Linked DNA regions of Homo sapiens: all the other regions are linked to region 1. The links are contacts of gene promoters, found by promoter capture Hi-C in blood cells and fetal thymus (Javierre and others, 2016). All regions are on one chromosome and are shown on one strand. Each heading gives the region's core, a stretch centred on a gene start or on the middle of the fragment in contact. The rest is flanking DNA. Distances are from core to core; before and after follow the strand shown.

The links. The method cuts DNA at HindIII sites, captures the fragments that hold promoters and counts their contacts. A CHiCAGO score of 5 or more calls a contact.
Region 2: a contact is called between a fragment that was not itself captured here and the fragment with the promoter of C1orf116 in region 1, in 4 of 17 cell types (neutrophils, monocytes, naive CD8 T cells and 1 more). The highest score is 7.5, in neutrophils.
Region 3: a contact is called between a fragment that was not itself captured here and the fragment with the promoter of C1orf116 in region 1, in 3 of 17 cell types (non-activated CD4 T cells, naive B cells and total B cells). The highest score is 5.7, in non-activated CD4 T cells.
Region 4: a fragment that was not itself captured here is called in contact with the fragment with the promoter of C1orf116 in region 1 in 6 of 17 cell types (naive CD4 T cells, naive CD8 T cells, total CD4 T cells and 3 more); the score reaches 8.4 in naive CD4 T cells.
Region 5: a contact is called between a fragment that was not itself captured here and the fragment with the promoter of C1orf116 in region 1, in 1 of 17 cell types (monocytes). The highest score is 5.3, in monocytes.

The regions. Positions count from the first base shown.
Region 1 is chr1:207,030,785-207,034,349 of GRCh38, reverse strand. C1orf116 (chromosome 1 open reading frame 116) reads left to right here and starts at 1,594. Exons shown (of 4, transcript NM_023938.6): 1 at 1,594-1,771. The HindIII fragment of the contact is 5,727 bases long and covers 1-3,565 here.
Region 2 is chr1:207,427,169-207,430,733 of GRCh38, reverse strand. No RefSeq gene overlaps it. Among named protein-coding and RNA genes, the nearest start is that of CR2, 25 kb to the left of the region's middle. The HindIII fragment of the contact is 3,250 bases long and covers 1-3,179 here.
Region 3 is chr1:206,647,682-206,651,246 of GRCh38, reverse strand. DYRK3 (dual specificity tyrosine phosphorylation regulated kinase 3) reads right to left here. Exons shown (of 3, transcript NM_003582.4): 3 at 1-3,565. The coding sequence ends at 2,282. Among named protein-coding and RNA genes, the nearest start is that of DYRK3-AS1, 14 kb to the right of the region's middle. The HindIII fragment of the contact is 1,066 bases long and covers 1,293-2,358 here.
Region 4 is chr1:207,409,315-207,412,879 of GRCh38, reverse strand. All of the region lies in intron 1 of LOC124904498 (a long non-coding RNA gene), which reads left to right. Among named protein-coding and RNA genes, the nearest start is that of CR2, 43 kb to the left of the region's middle. The HindIII fragment of the contact is 5,588 bases long and covers 1-3,565 here.
Region 5 is chr1:207,372,426-207,375,990 of GRCh38, reverse strand. No RefSeq gene overlaps it. Among named protein-coding and RNA genes, the nearest start is that of CD55, 53 kb to the right of the region's middle. The HindIII fragment of the contact is 801 bases long and covers 1,478-2,278 here.

The sequences.
Region 1 (3,565 bases), core at 345-2,844:
CACACCAGGGAAAGAGGTCATAGCCCGAAGTGCTCATTCAGCTGTGATATCCATAGGCTGCTGATAGGGTACTGGGTTATCCCAGGCTTCCTCCAACCTCCTTCCTATCCATTAGTCCTGCTCCACTTCATCTTTACCTTGGCCCCAGGATCACTGCCCTTTTTATTTCCTATCCAACCATGATCACAGAAAGAGAAAAGATGAAAGCCATGTGTCGTCTTGTTATAAAACATATTAATAGCTTTAAGTAGGAAATGAAACAGAAAAGGACGAATCTAATAGCTAGAATTACACTTGCAAATTATCTGTGTATTTCATGATTCCCACTTGAGATTCCTTCCAAAATAGAGGCGGATTGGCATTATGCTGATTCATAGCAACCTTGATGTTATACTGCCTGAATTAAAATCTCTGCCCTGCCTCTTCCTAGCTACATGGCCTTGAAAAAGATTTTTAACCTCCCTGTAAAATTTAGATATTAACAAATGCCTACTTTTTTAAGTTAAAGACTAAATTAAAAGATACATGAAAATGCTCAGCACAATACCTAGCAAATAGCAAGAGCTTAATACATTTTGGCAATTATTGTGTACATTGATTTTAAATTTTCTCCCTGACCTTTTAATGCTAGTAAGTGGAATACCTCAAATCCTGATACCTATCAAGGATAATCTACCTGTAGGAAAAACCAGCTTCCAGGCAAAAATCATATCTGTTAAGAGTGGTCTCTGTACCTGGTGGGAAATTTCTTCCCAAAAATAGTAGATTCTTCTACCTACTCTCTTCTCCCTACGAATGCCAAGTATCAGTCCATGAAAGGAGACAAGAGTTGCTAAACTGGTTGGTAGTTTGTTTTGTTTTTATTTCATAATATGTATTGCCACCTTCCATGAACAGCCAAAAGAGAGCAGAGGACCAAATGACAGAGTGCATGCTCTCTCCTTTCAAGCTGTCCAGTCACTCTTTCATCAGGACACGGACCTCTTAGGGGATGAATGGTTTTATTTCCCCCAGAAATAAATTAGGCCAAGGAGATTGTTGGCAAGCACTGGGGCGAGACTGGCCCAACTACAGCATCCCTAGCCTGGGGACACCTTCTTCAGTGGACATGAATGGAATTGCTAGGCTTATGAGCTAGGATTAGGCTTGGGGAAGAAAGTGACTTTCAACATCTAGAAAAGCTAGCAGCAAAACTGAACACAAATGAGTTTAGCCTAGAGAATTCAGGGGAAAACTAAGCTCCAAGCGGAAGAAGGTAGTTCTAGATGAAAAACCTGTTTCACATAGACCTATGGAAAAGCACACTGCCCAGAGGACTGTCTGCGTTCCTTTATATCAACATTAAATATATATACTATCTCTGCCTACTCCCTCCCTGCCACCTGTCCTTCCAGTCTCAGCCCAAACCGGCTCCTCCTCCTTCCAGCCCTCCTTTTTTAAAGAGCTCTTTATTAGCTCTAAACAGGAAAGGGGAGGGTAGGAGATGATTGGCTAAGAGGGAACAGCACCACCCTGCTCATTCCCCTCCCATTCCCTCCCTGAGGAAACAGCTGGAATGAGAGGTAGGGAGGGGAGGCTAGGATTGGCTGAGTCAGTGGCAGGGTGGGGGCCAGGCAGCACAGATGAAGCATTTACCTATCTAGGTAAGTCAGGAGGAGCTCAAAAGGAGAAGAAAACAGTAGGAGGCAGGGGAAGCAGCCTCTGTCTCCATCTCTGCCCTTTGAAACAAAAGGGTATTTCTTTTCTCTCTTCAGCCCCCAACCCAGTGGAGGTGAGTTAATCACTAACCAACTATTGCTTATCCTATAGCAATAGGAAGGGGTTTCATGGGAAATCAGAGCTACAGGGGAGGGGAGGTGTCCCTCTATACCCCAGCTAGGGAGATTTCCTCTCTGTTCCTCAATTCTCTGAGTCCATTCTGGGATCAGATCAGGTTGGTAGCAACTTGAGATTGTAGTGTTTTTGTGGAGACTGGGGCTGGGAGGCACCTTCTTTTTCATTTATCCCTTTAGGTTGGATAGGCATATTGTGCAAACAACAAGAAAAAGAAAATAGATTTGTTTTGGAAATTTCCATCTCTGAACAATTGAAATTGAGTTGTGATTTTAGAAAAGAACAGTTGAAATAGAGGGAGTCAAAATGGGGGAGAGTATCTTGGTTTTCCATAGCGACTGTAACAGGAAATTCTCCCGTGGCTTTACCAACTCGGTGTCGATCTTTATTTAAATAATGGGTGCAATGTGTGTGTGTGTTTGATCATGCTCATGTGATAATGGAGCTCTCTGTGTACAGGTGTGTTAGGCATGAGCTGTACTAGGTTGTTTGTAAAGGGATATGAGGTTGGGGCACATGGAGAAAACTTCAGCTACCAGCTCATCTTTGGAAAACCCATGGATAATCTAGCTGCAAAGTCAAGTTTATTTGGATTCTACTCAATTAACTTTCTGACTCAGCCTGTTAATAGACACAGAGACTGGCAAACAGAAAGCTACCTGGCTGTGCCGAGCCTCACCCACATGAATATTTCGTGGCTGCATGTCAAGTCTAGTTAGAGTTCCAAGTGGGGCTCAAGCCAAGGTAGTGTGGCAGAGTCCACAGACAGAGAAGCAGACCAGGGTGGTGGCTTTGTTTGTTTTCCTGCAGGTGTCCCAGTTGGCAGTTTGTGTGGCAGATTTACCTGCAGAAGGAAGGCAGATGTAGGAGTCGAGTCAGAGTAGCAAGTTGCCTCTCCATTATCCATCTTGGGGGGTTTAACCCTTTGGTCCCTAACTTTGACTCTTTTCCTCCTGCTGCAGAGAAGAGGGAAGTGGGAAGCCCTCAGTGCCAGGCTCAAGGGCCTGGCACACGCAGCCCTGAGTGAATATATGGGTTTTCCAGTCCTGGCAACTGGAGATTTAGGCTTGAGCTCACCTCACACCACAGAGCCAACACCCCACACTCACAGACTGAGGGCTGCCCTAGATGGTGAATTTAGGAATAAAGACCACTGGCAGTGTCTAACAAAGCTCTGCTATGCAGAGGGTATTTCTACCTGCTCCTTCCCTCAAACACACTGGTGAAAGGGAAGATGATAATGTTGCCTAAACACACACAGAAACTTGCCCATGTGTTCATGGAGACAGATATGCAAACTGTGCAAGTTTTAGTCATTCTGCTATTTTTCTTAGGATATTTTCCAGCCCAAGGCACATTTCTGGGTAGTCAACAAGAAGCAAAGACACCTGGATTGAAAGACAGGAAACCTCTTTGACTAGTAGGCAGAGAGGCAAAGCTCTTGGAGGACATGTGGGGGGTTCGTGGGAGGAGGATGAGAGGGACCTGGGTCTGATTAGAAGGTACAGACAAGCCAACCTGGAATGGAGCTGGAGCCCTCTCCCCACCCCACCATCTCCAGATGCCAGAACTTGAACTGTTCTTTATTTCCTCTCCTCCAAGGCTTGGCAGTATTTAGTATTTTAGTCAGTGGTGTAGTTAATATTTAATGTGTCTTTGGATGGGTGGCCCTGACTATAGGTGCTGCATATTTCTTAACCCATTCCCTCCTCCCGTTAAGTTCCCAAAGAGG
Region 2 (3,565 bases), core at 305-2,804, 400 kb before region 1:
AGAACAGGCTGAGAATTTATGAATTTAAAAGTTCCCCAGGTGATTCTGATAACCAACGAAGGTTGTGAACCACAGTTTTAGGAAATTCTGATAAATGGGTAAAAAATTTGAATGTCATCAAGAGGAAGTCTGCAAGCCTAAATATAAATTGTTACAGTTGCTATCAGTTGAAGACATGTAAATGCAATTTGTGGGAATGGATTTAGAGACAGAATATGCAAACTTATCCCTATTGGATTTATTTATTTTTGACAGTATAAACGCCAATGCCAGGATTAAAAATTATAAGTGTAATTATACTGACTTTGGAGAGTGAGGTTTAAATTTAACATGATTTCAAGCAGATACTTCCAACAAAATACCCCCTTGGTAACACCCTAGACTTTGTCATGTCCTAATATGGCACCACTTCCAAAATCTCTAATTCAGACATCCTGCTGTCTACATACAATCTCCACTGCATTCAGCTTACCTATTTCAGTGTCAAACTGCTTGACCTTCGTTTGACTTCATGAGAACTTTCTGTCGCCTTTCCCCTTATTCTAATCTATTTGCCCACTCTTTCTTCAGTTCCTTCCTTAATCAGTCAAAAGTCTATACCACAAGTTCAACAGCACTCCTGCCAGTAACAAACTCCTTTGCCTGCTTCCTTATGGCAACTGTTTAGAAAATCCCAAACCTCAATCATTGTTACTTTCTGCTTTCCTTACCTAAGCACTGAGATAGAGCCACATGGCAGGTTGCACTGGTGGATAAATTCAGGATAACTAATTTCAAATAGACTCAACCTTGTGTGGCAACCTTACCATTGTTTTCCTCTTTTTAATTCACTTTATCAATGATTACTTTGTATCTTCTTTATACTCCTCACCCTTCCAACCATAACTGACCCTTTTCTGCCTGTCTTCTCACCTCCTTCTTCACTGAGAAGCCGTCGGAGATCTAGTCTCCCAATTTCCTGCTAGCAACTCTAGGAACCTCCATCTGCATTCATCTTTTCTTTTTTCCATTTTCTCTCTTCTCTTATTGAAGGTCAGTTCTTTCACATGAGGTCTTGGATTCTACTCTTTCCTGATTTTTCAGAAACATTTAACTATCAAACAATTCCACTCTTGCCTGTATTTTCAACTGTGTTCTAACATTGGATCATTCCCCGTGACATTTAAAAGAGCTAAAAAAAATCTCAAAAGACTTTCTTCCCCCAACTTCTAACCCTTTCTCCTCACTTTCAGAGCTAAATTTCTTTTTCTTTCTTTCTTTCCTTCTTTCTCTCTTTCTTTCTTTCTTTCTTTCTTTCTTTCTTTCTTTCTTTCTTTCTTTCTTTCTTTCTTTCTTTTTCTTTTTTAACTTTTTGAGACGGAGTCTTGCTCTGTCACCCAGGCTGGAGTGCAGTGGCTTGATCTCAGTTCACTGAAACCTCCACCTCCTGGATTCAAGTGATTCCCCTGCCTCAGCCTCCCAAGTAGCTGAGATTACAGGCACGCACCACCACACCCGGCTAATTTTTTTGTATTTTAGTAGAGATGGGGTTTCACCATGTTGGCCAAGATGGTCTCAATCTCCTGACCTCGTGATCTCCCCACCTCAGCCTCCCAAAGTGCTGGGATTACAGGTGTGAGCAACTGTGCCCAGCCTCAGCCAAATTTCTTAATGTCTTGAAAGAGTTACAGATGGCCTGTCCTTTTCAACACCTTTTACTAATGTTCAACCTACTTTGATTTAGCCTCTGTCTCTCTCATTATGACTAACGATCACCTTCATATTGCCAAAGCCAATGAACATTTTTCAGTTCTTGGTGGAATTTGACATTAACCACTGTTTTCTTCTTGAAACAATTTGTTCTGCTGTCTTCCCCAGATATCATTATCTGCTGGTTATCTGCTTAGCTCTCTGGTCATTCTTCCTCTCTATATACATATATATCTTTTTTTCCAGTTTATCCTCCTCTGTCTGGTGATTAAATGTTGGAGTTTCTCGAGGCTGAATCCTGGGCTCTTTTCACATTCTATTATATCTCCACAGGCAAATGTATCTATTACGTCTATGACTTGAAAAATTCTAAATTGAGCTCACACCTGTCTTCTAAGCCTAAGACCCTGTATACCTTATTTTGCCTCTCCATGTGGATACTTCAGTATCAATATGTCAAACACCAAACTCAGTCCTCCCTGACAGAGCAGGAGCACCATCATCTTGGACAAACACTGCCACTTTAAGTTCCAGCTCTTTTTCTAGCCTCATGCATTTCAAGGAAATCACTTTTCTTCTAACAACAAGTGCCCAGAAAGAGCAGACAGTAAAATACAGATAAGACAGCTGGGGCACAGAGGGAGGTGGTGGGGAAGTCTCTTGGGTAACTGCCAAACTTCACCCTCATACAATGGGCCCCAGTAAAACAGTGGGCCTTAATAAGCACATTCCTTTCCATTTAAGTGCACTAAGGGAAGCTAAAAGCAGACTTGGGAGGAGGGTGGGTATGCCTGCAGCTGCAGGAAGATGTATGGGAACAGACACAAAGCTCTCCCTCCCAGATAAGTGCAACAAAGAAACACAGAAGGAGTACAAGCCTCTGATAAACTCTTCCACCCTGAATCCTTAAAAACTCTTAGTCTCTAAGAAAGTAGGCTCTAACCTAACTCAGCCAGAAGCCCCTCTCATGTTTGTTTTCTCTAAAATAAACCCGTCCTTAACTGTCAAGCCACCTTTCATGTATCTTTCCTCTTTCTTTAATTCTTACACTCCCTCCAAAGTTATTGGTTCCTGCCAATGTTTCTAATCTCATTGAATAGTACCATCATGCATCCAGTCACCTAATTTACAAATCTCAGGTTCATCCATGATATCTCATGCTTTTCATTCTCCAATATCTAATCCATCTTTGAGATCCATCTATTTTTTGTTCAAAATACCTCTTTATCCATACTTCCCATATCTTCTGCCAGCATATTCCAAGCTACCATCTCTATCTTAAAATAATGCACTTTTCTTTTAATTGATGTCCCTTCAATTTTTGTGCCTCCCATTCATATTCATTTTTGACATCACACAGAGAGTGATATCTTCAAAATGCAAATCTCATTTTGTTCTATTTGATAGAATAAATTCCTCCTTGTTATTGAAATCACAAAAAAGTCACCCCCACTCCCCTTGCACACACAATTTTATCTATCCCTGAAGCTTTCAAAATTGTTAAAGGCTTTCCATTGTTTTTAAGCTATGGACCAACATCCTTAATATCCTCAAAGTTCTTGGTTCCAAGAAGCTGCATTGTCGGGCTCTTGATGATCATTGTAGCTCTCCTTATACTATCCTCCTGGGTTTCTCTCTGCCCTAGTCATGCCGTAGGGCTATAATATTCTTTAGAATGAAGAGGTGAACAAGGTCCCTACAGATAGATTAAGACAGACAGAGAATTGATACAACCCAAAGTAGAACAGAAAAGATGTGTTAATAACCACGCCAGGTGAAAAGAAACTGTTTCTGGTGTATTTTATTAACAGGTCAAGAGAAAAATACTTTGAATCAACAGCTGCATTGCAGGTAGAAGGGTACATGCTTATTGGCT
Region 3 (3,565 bases), core at 576-3,075, 380 kb after region 1:
ATGAGGTAGATGAGGCAGTTTCAAGACCTCCCTTGAAGAAGGCAGTGATGAATAAAGAAGAGGAGGATGGGTTATGAGCAGCATTTAGTGTGACATCTGAAGAGATCAAGATGCCACTATCAGACAAGAAAACCAATAACCAGACTAATTTCACACAGCTTCTTCAGGCAATGGAATCAAGAGATAGGATGCAGACTTAGAAAAAAAGAAAGAAAATTCAGCAGGAGTTAGAGGGATCTAAAGGAGTTGTATATTTATTGCCTTCTGTAAACCAGGAGTAAAGGAGATAATTAAGGTTTTAAATAATCCAGTTTCTTAGTCACCAAAAGTACCAAGACTTCCTCCTATTAATGAGGCTGAAGGCTCAGTTTAAGCTGTTCTCTGCCATCTGGCCCTTGTACTTGGGAGACTAAAGCCACTGTGGACATTTAAATGAGAGAGATTTGCACTCTCTCATTTTTCACAGCCTATGCTACAGCAATCATGACTACTTTTGGATAAAACAAAAGTTCCTTAAATAATATACTCATGGCATTTTTATTTTCTTTTCTTGTTCCTACACTGCCCAACAAAAAGAGTCTCTTCCAATGTCATTGAGTTTGCACCACATTCTAGAATAATAAATGGAACTGGATCATTCTGAGAACTATATTGTAAAAAGCAAATATTCTACTTTAAAGAACACACTTTTTTTGGTTTGTTTTTTAGACAGAGTCTCACTCTGTTGCCTAGGCTGGAGTGCAGTGGCATGATCTCAGCTCAAGTGATCCTCCCACCTCAGCCTCCCAAGTAGCTGGGATTACAGGCATGTGCCACTAGGCCTGGCTAATTTTTGTATTTTTTGTAGAGGCAGGGTTTCACCATGTTGCCCAGGCTGGTCTTGAACTCCTGGGCTCAAGGAATCCACCCACCTCAGCCTCCCAAAGTGCTGGGATTACAGGCATGAGCCACTAATACCCAGCCAAGAGCACACATTTAGGATAGAACTTGAGCATACTTTTGTTCTGGAAGAGGACAGAAATAGAGCAAGGGACAGGAAACAACAAACAAAACCCAGTAGCAGTGAGTTAGCTTCTGTCCCGTCTCCACCCTTGTAAGTAGGACACTGGCTTAACAATTAGTTTTATTATCAGCCCTCACTGTTTAAATCTTAGCAGAGAAAAAGAAAAGCTGTTGAAGAGAATAAAATTAAGAAACATAAAAAGGGAAAACTTGATTATCACCAGTTTCTGGATTTTTAGTTTTCTTCTTCTAACTGAAGTTCACTCAGATCTAGGGAATAGCATTAAGCTTAACGTGAAAGTGGGGGGAAAAATGTGGCACATTGAAGTGGCAGGTAGCTGTAAAGAGAAGAGGGAAGCATTTTTAAACTGTAGTAAGGTTTATCCGAGAGTGATTACTTTTATAAGGAAGAGATTCTATGAAAATGCAGCAAGGAGGCTGGTCCGTGGAGTACCACAAAGCTGGGGAACTGCAGTTTTCATGCTGATTCTCTATCTTTACCACTCTGGGTCAATTGTGGCAGAGAAGCTGTTTTATCTTCCTTGGGCATGGGAGAGGAAAGGAGGAGGGATGCATATGACTCAGTTTTTAAATCAGTACCTTACAGGGTTATTTAGTAAAGTGGTAAGGCTTCTGTAAAATGCTTTGAGTGACTAGGAAACAAATCAGAGGCAAAATAACAACATAAAATAATAACACCAAACATCAGAGAACTGAAGGGAAGAGGAGCGAGTCACTGAAAACCAGGGACACCAGTTGTCCAGGTCACCAACAGCTTCCTGGTGCTCCCCCACCCCACAGTCTGCTGTGAGCTCTTTCACCTAGAATGAGCCTAGAGAATGGCCTAGTGGGGCAAGGGACCTAGCACTGGCTCTCAGCCACAACTAACACCACATCCCAAATTACCCCTCCAGAACAGATGCCGAGGGACACTAGAAGCGAGGAGTAGTTGGGATACTTTTGCTACACCTTCTATCTTGAGAGAAAGAGATTTAAACCAATAGTATAATACATCAGTTGAAATACATCTGACGATAATAACAAAGATGCATTGACCTATAAAAAGTCATTTAATGCATATTCCAGATGGCCAATACAAGCTGGTTAGGTAATTAGCCCTTGAAGAATTCTTTTATAATCATATAAAAATGTTTTGTCTTGTTTAAAAAAAGTCTACTCTAACAAAAACATCCACCAATGGGCTTGCATTTTTTCCATTTGCAGGTTTGTAAGATCATAAAAATATACACATATGCATCTCTGGGCATATCTCTGTCCACTAGCTAATCAGTTTTGGCAATACACTGCATAGGGGTATACTACCATTGGTTTCTGACATTAAGTTAGCTTTAAGCTTATTGGCTATTCCAACAACTGGAGGCAGCTTAGAACCCAATCCCTGGAAAGCACTTGCAGGATTAACTACCCGTTTCCCTGACACCTTGTCTATGGTGGTGAGAGGTCTGGGGACAGACTTGCTAATCCAAGGGTGTCTTAATGCTTGAGCTGGGGTCAAGCGGGCAGAGGGGTCCCAGTGAAGACACCTTTTCAAGAACTCTATAAACAAGTAGTCATCACACCCTTTCAGTGCTGTCCCCCAGTCTTTGCTGCCTGGGGGACCCCGCTTTTTACCCCTACGTGAGCGACCCCCCACAAGCACAACCCTCCCATCTGCCTGGGTAGTCACAGAGCAGTAGCGGGGTATGCCCTTGGAATTAATAAAGTACTTGGCACGTTTGGATTGCTCCAGAAGTTTTGGTGGTGGCATCCCTAGAAGCTCCATCATGCAGGCCAACTGGTCTCCTTCATCCTCTCCAGGGAAGAGAGGCTGTCCTGTTAAAAGTTCTGCAAGGATGCAGCCAAAACTCCATATGTCAATTGGTGTGCTGTAGCGGCTTCCTAAGATGATTTCTGGAGCTCTGTAGAACCGAGACTGGATATATGTGTAGAGCTTCTGGTACTCGAAACAGCTGGACCCAAAGTCAATGACCTTGGTTGAACTGCGCCCGTGGTGTTTCAGGAGAATGTTTTCTGGCTTCAGATCGCAGTGAATAATCTTATTTTTGTGGAGGGCATCCAAAGATTGCAAGATGGACTGGGCAAACTTGCGTACCAACTGGACGCTAAAACCCTGAAACTTATTTTTTTTAATCAGCTCATAAAGGTCTATGCTCAGCAATTCAAAGGCCATGCAAACATGGTTCCGGAATGTGAAACTTTCCAGCATGTGGATAACGTTCATACTACCAGTTTTATCCTGTTTCTTAAGATGCTCCAAAATCCGGATCTCCTCAGCTGCTTGACGATGAAAGCGCTTCTCATTGCGCACCATTTTTAGGGCCACGTACTGTCGAAGTTTGTGATCATAGACCCTGGCCACCTGCCCAAAACTCCCCTTGCCAATAATTTTCAGCACCTCATATCGATAAGCTAGATGGTCTCGAGGTACATGAATATAGGCCCCATCTGCATCATCATACCCTCCATTATTGGGACCACCAATAACTCCATGTCTTTTCTTGGCATTTGGACCTACAAAGTAAATTTCTGGATAATTAATTAT
Region 4 (3,565 bases), core at 707-3,206, 380 kb before region 1:
CACAATTGTTGGGGCAATTAATGTATGAAAACAATCACTTTATATTTTATCCAGTTAAATTGTTTATGATAGCAGGGAAAGTCTGATTCTAATTATGCTGTCTGGATGTGGAAGTGTGAATTACTCTATTTTTCACTTTTAGAATTTCTGTTGTGTTCTTTCTTAAATATGCCCTATCCTTTGCAATATGTCTGTCTATTATGATTTCTCCTCCTTTCTTCTCTTTGAATATTGTAGATATCCTTAATTTAAAGCATTTTTGTATTTTTCTATTCTCTGTATTTCTTTAGATGTGGTTTCTCTAATTCATTGCATCCCAGAGCTCTCTCTTCCCTAGTTCTTTGTCTCCTCTTGAGGATTGTACATTTTTTCTAAGAACTCATCTTCAGTGGGAGTTTTTTCCACAGGCATCAAGTGCACTGGTTTGTGGAGGTTTCTTGTGACAAGGGGCACATTTCATTCTACCAAGGGCCCAGTAGTTTCAATTTATATAAGAATTTCTCAGTTGGGGTTTTCCACATAGACAGGATAATGTAAATTCACACAATAGCATTAGCAAGGTTCAGAGATGTGCTTCCTGTGTCTTTTTTTCTCCCATAGCACAGAGTAGTTGACTTGCTTCTTTGCTGCTTCATCGTCTTAGTGGTAAGGGTATTCTAATTTTCATTTTATGGACTGGCTGTCAGATTTATTAAAGAGCCCATTTCTAGGTGCCAGTGTTGCATGGGACTTTAGACTCAAATCCAGAACCCTGGTATGTGCTAAAATCATGGCCCTCCCCCTAGGGATTTACCCCATTCTGTCTCCTCCATAAGTCACTGGGTTTAGCTCTTACTCACTACATTGATTTTCAATATTCTATTTATTTCCTCTCCCCGAGGATTTCTCTCTCTCTCTCTCTATCTCTCTCTCTCCCCCCCTTCTCTCTCTGTGTGTGTGTGTGTGTGTGTGTGTGTGTGTGTGTGTTTGAGACAGGGTCTCACCCTGTCTCTCAGGCTGGATGGAGTGCAGTGGCCTGATCTCAGCTTACCACAGCCTTAACCTCTCAGGCTCAAACAATCCTCCTACCTCAGCCTCCCAAGTAACTGAAACTATAGGCACGTGCCACCATGCCCTGCTAATTTTTTGTATTTTTTTGTAAAGTTGCTCAGGTTGGTCTCGAACTCTGCCTGCCTCAGCCTCCCAAAGTGCTGGGATTACAGGCGTGAGCCATCACAACTGGCCCAGGATTTCTCTTTCTTAATTTCAATCTCAGTTATGTATTTTTAAATTAATTTTTAAATTTATAATTGACACATAATTCTACATATTTCAGTGATACATTTAAAAATTAATTTGGATTCATTGTATCCATTTTTCTAATTATTTTGTGTGGGATGAGATGGCTTCAAAAGTCAGCCTTGTCATGATGTTGCCTTGATGTGTACTTATATGTAGTGTTAAGTACAACATAGTATTTCTCGAGTCATACATTTTCAGGAAGTGTCAATAGTCTTTAACTTCTTTTTTTATTGTTAATGGTTACATTCTTTTTTCTTTTTTACAAATAATTTTAACTTTTATTTTAGATTCAAGGGATGTGCAGTTTTATTGCATGGGTATATTATGGAATGCTTAGATTTGAATTATCCCATTACCCAGATAGTGAGCATAATACTCAACAGTTAGTTTTTCAACCCTTGCCTCCTTCCCCCTTCTATTAGTCCCGAGTGTCTATGTCCATGTCCCGAGTGTCTATGTCCATGAGTACTCAATGTTTAGCTCCCACTTATATGTGAGAACATGCAGTATTTGGTTTTCTGTTCCTGCATTAATTTGCTTAGTATAATGGCTTCCAGCTGCATCTGTGTTGTTGCAAAGAACATGGTTTCATTCTTTTTAATGGCTGTGTAGTATTCCATGGTGTATATGCACCACATTTTCTTTATCCAATCCACCATTGATGGACACTTAGGTTGATTCCATGTCTTCGCTATTGTGAATAGCATGGTGATAAATATACAAGTTCATATGTCTTTTGGTAGAATGATTTATTTTCTTTTGGATATATATACCTAAGTAATGGGGTTGCAGGATCAGATTATGCATTTTCTTTTGGATATATACCTAGTAATGGGATTGCTGGGTCAGATGGTAGTTCTGTTTTAAGTTTTTTGAGAACTCTTCAAACTGCTTTCCACAGTGGGTGAAACAATTTACATTCCCACCAACAGTGTATAAGATTTCCCTTTTCTCCACAGCCTTGCAAGCATCTGTTGTTTTTTGAGTTTTTCATAATAGCCATTCTGACAGGTATGGGATGGTATCTCATCATGGTTTTGATTTTCATTTTTCTGTTGATTAGTGATGTTGAGCATTGTTTCATACATTTCTTGGCCACTTATATGTCTTTTTTTTTTTTTTTTTTTTTTTTTTTTTGAGACAGAGTCTCGCTCTGTCACCCAGGCTGGAGTGCAGTGGTGCGATCTCGGCTCACTGCAAGCTCCGCCTGCCGGGTTCCTGCCATTCTCCTGCCTCAGCCTCCCGAGTAGCTGGGACTACAGGCGCCCGCCACCACGCCCGGCTAATTTTTTGTATTTTTAGTAGAGACAGGGTTTCACGTGTTAGCCAGGATGGTCTCGATCTCCTGACCTCGTGATCCGCCTGCCTTGGCCTCCCAAAGTGCTGGGATTACAGGCATGAGCCACCGCACCCGGCCTTGTATTTCTTCTTTTGAGAAGTATCTGTTCTTGTCCTTTGTCCATATTTTAATGGGGTTGTTTTTTGCCTGTTTAACTGTTTAAGTTCCTTATAGATTCTGGATATTAGAACTTTGTTGGATGCATAGTTTGTAAGTACTTTCTCCCATTAGTCTTTAACTTTTCATGAATATATTATTTATGTTATGCTTTGTTTCCCAAGTAAATTTCAAGTGCTAGTATAGCAATTTATTATATCCTTATTTGATTGTAAAGTACTGGCATGGAGCATGCTATTTTAATTTGTACGCTCCAGGGCTCCTAATGGAACCCCAGCCTAATACAGTTATGAATGAATATCTGTTGAAAAGAACACAAGAAATGATATTAATTTTTTTCTTTTTTCTTTTTTTTTTTTTTGAGACGGAGTTTCACTCTGGTTGCCCAGGCTGGAGTGCAATGGTGCGATCTTGGCTCACTGCAACCTCCGCCACCCAGGTTCAAGCAATTCTCCTGCCTCAGCCTCCCGAGTAGCTGGGATTACAGGCGTGTGCCACCACTCCCAGCTAATTTTGTATTTTTAGTAGAGACAGAGTTTCTTCATGTTGGTCAGGCTGGTCTTTAACTCCCGACCTCAGGTGATCTGCCCGCCTCGGCCTCCCAAAGTGCTGGGATTACAGGCATGAGCCACTGCACCTGGCCAGTTTAATTTCTTTAAAATGAAACTTAAGACAAAATTTTACCTTTTTGCCTCAAGATAATTGTTAGATATTCAAGTGTGTAAATGATCTCTTGACTAGCAGCTATTTTTTATTTTCTCTGTTAATCTGATTAGAAATATAGCATTAGAAAAACTCAGTAAGAAGTTGTATCTCCTCGAAGAAGCA
Region 5 (3,565 bases), core at 629-3,128, 340 kb before region 1:
CTACAATTAGAATATCTGGGTACCATATCATATGCCAATGGTTGACTGAAAACTAATGTTTGTTTTATAAATTAGAACACTGCATGAACTTCATTCCTAAAAGTTACTTTTTTTTTGAGAACTAACAAAATTCAACGTCATTTCTTGGACTTATGAATAACAACCTCACCTGTTTTTGTTCATATAGTAGTAACACTTATGATTAAAAAGCTAATGATTAAAGTAAATTATAATTTTTCAGAAATAATGAATTTTCCTTATATAATCAATAATACAATTGAATTATTTCTTTCACACATACAAACCTTCATTATCTTTTGTCCAGCTCACTTCAACAAAAACTTCATTGGAATTTGTTTGGAATTGCATTGATTTTATTTTTAAATTTGTGATGACTAGTTATTTTCACATTTTTCAACAAGGAAATGACTTACCTTAAATTTTCAGAGCTGTTCTTACAATTTTTAAAGAAATGTGAATAGTTCCTTCACATATTTGAAGAATCTTCCTGGGTACCTACATTCTTCGATATTTTAAGATGATTATCACTCATAAACAGGATTATTTTTGCATTGTCATATCCAATTTATTATTGTCACTATTTACCTAATATTAGGTCCATTGTTAAATCCAACATATTTTGTTAGAGTTTAATTGGATTGTCTAGGTAGGTATTCATGTAATTTGTAATTATTTTTTTTCTTATCTCGGCTGGAAGATTTTGAGTTTTATTGCAAACCATACTGTACAGACCCAGGACGCAGTGCCATCCTCAAGCATTTTGTGATCCCCAGGCCTCCTCCTCTCCGGCGGCCTTTGGTCAGCCCGGTCCCAACCCGCACCCACACTCCTCCTTGGTTTGTGGATAGATTCCTTCTCCAATACATGGTTAAGACCAGGTTTACTCAGTTCCCATGGCAACTTAGAGGGGCCATTTCCAGCCTTAGCCCTGAAATGCCATCATTCTGTGTTCATTCTAATACTTCACACCTCGGAAAATTATTTTGATTTTCTTTACTCTGACTCCTAGTGAATGTCAACATCTTTTCATATGTTCTTGATCAATCTGATTTACCTTGCTAAAAATTTCCTATCAGTATACCTGTCCACGTTGTATTGGGTTTTATGTCATTTACCTATCAATGTAAGAGCTTTTTGTCTATTATAGACACAAACCATTAATCTCTCTTTTGTGTTTTAGCAATTTATTTCCACTTTTTCTAACCATTATTTACATTTTTTGCATTGTCAAAAATGTCTATATTTCTTTAACTCTTACGATTCCAATCTTTGTTTTAAAGTTTTTTACAGACCTTAGATTGAGGTGTCAGGTTTTATTTGATATTCTATGTTTATATATGTATCTTGACTAATATGTTAAAACTTTTTATTTAGTTTGTTGCTCTTTAGTTTCCACAGATGAGTTCAAATTCCTTTATTTTTAATGTTTTCCTTAATAACGAAGGCATTTAAAGCTTGCAAGTTCCACTGAAAAGTTCTCTGTGTTCCAAATAATTTAGTGTGTTCTTCTTTTCACTCTTTCCTAAATAGTTTTTAATTTTTTAAATTTTATCTTTGATATAAGGGTGATCTAGGAGCATCTTAATTTTCAAGTGGTTAAGATTTTGTTGATCACCTTCTCTCTTTTTCATATTTATCAACACGGCCTTTTAAAAAAGTGAATATACTTTATGGCCAAGTATATGACGTTTTTGAGCAAATGTTTCATTGATGTATGGAAAAACCCCTCATATCTTTGATTCTAAGAAACATTTTTCTCACGTGTTAACATCTCTAGAATTGGGATGCATCTCTTTACAGCTGTCAGCCCATAGGAGTGGCATTGTAGTTGTGTAAAACCTTCACTTGACATGTTCTGGTAAGATCAAGAAATCAAGAAAGCACCAGTATCAAAATGTCTTAGTGTAGAGGAAAGCCAACATATTGTCTCTAGATAATATAAGGTTGTTTTTCCCTGTCCTGGGTTTCTTTCTCTCTACAAAATCTGTTTGATTTTGGTAGAGATGTATTGAAATCTTCAGTCATAATTATATTTTATTAGGCTTATCAAATTCCTAATGACTTTGCTTTATGTATTTAGCTAGTTGCATGTAGTTTGATATATACATATTTATGAATGTTACCTTTTTCATAAATCTTTGCCTTTTATAATTGGTCTGACCTTACATTTTATCTTTGCTTATCTTTTATTTTCCACCCTTCTTTACTATTTCACCATGTCCCTCATACACAGCTTTTGTTTTCTAATCTTTAAGCTTTAGTGAAAGAAAACAATCCATTTACATTTTATTTAATGTCTGTATCTTAGTTTCTTCATTATCTATTTTAAATCATTATTTCCTTTTTTTCTTATTTTTGTTGTTTTTTTTTTCAGGTTCATCTCATTCTTTCAAAGATTAGTTGTGTGTTTCCATTTCATTCATTGTTAACAACATGTCTGCTCTCAAGAACAAGTATATATGAATCTATCCCTTTTCCCACACAGCTGTATTACCTCAACTTTCTTCCCTATACAAACTAGATGAGACCTCTAGAACACTTCTTCCTTTTGTTCTTTTTTTCTCTGCCTTTTTCAGGTGATGAGACTTTTTCAAATGCTTTTACTTTGCCCTTCTACAGATTTCCTTAAAGTATGCTTTACTTCCTCAAATTATGTTGTTCAGAAATAAATAAAACAAAATGAATTGAGGTCTGTAATGAGTTTGATGACACAATACTAACCCTTGACTGTTTCTCTTTTTTATTTTGAGAAAAAAATTTAGAATACATAAAAGTATATATAAATATAACAACTGCCCATGTACCCATCATTCAAATTATATAAATTAACATTTTTAGTCAAATGCTTCATATCTTTTACTTTGTAATACAAGAAATAAAACATTACACATAAAGCTGAAGTACTCACTGTCGCCTATTAATACATTTCTGTTTTCTTCTACTCCCCCATTTGTGTTCCTTCCTATGATGAGGTGCACACATTGTGGTTAGGAATTCCATTTTTAAATAATGGTGGTCTAAGTTATTGGGACTAATAGCTCTCTAAAAAGCAATCAAGGTAACTAGATTTAAAAAAATTACAATCTTAAAACTACAGGTTAGCCAACAAAAAATGGACTCAATGGAGTGGGGAAGTATATTCCATCTACTATAGTGGAAGGCACTGAAAAGTCACCTGGCAAAAGATGTCCAGTTATAATTCTGTAAAAGGGAAGGAGTAAAGAATTAGAAACATTAATACAATCTACCAAAGAATGAAACAAACTAAAAAGTCTACTTAAAAAACTTGCAAATCACAACTGTAAAATGTGAAGAAATGCAATGCCATGAGAGAGAGCCAACAAAATCAACTTTGGAAAGGAACTGACTCTAAGTGGAATTTCTCTTAATAGAAAAATGTGATAAACATATCAAAACAAATCTGAGAAATAAAGGATCAATATCCATTAGTAACTAAATAGGACCTGTAAAACAAAAATAGGCAGGTCTGAAGTACAAACTGTCAGATATAAAGCAATTTGAAATCTTAGAAATGAATAATGTG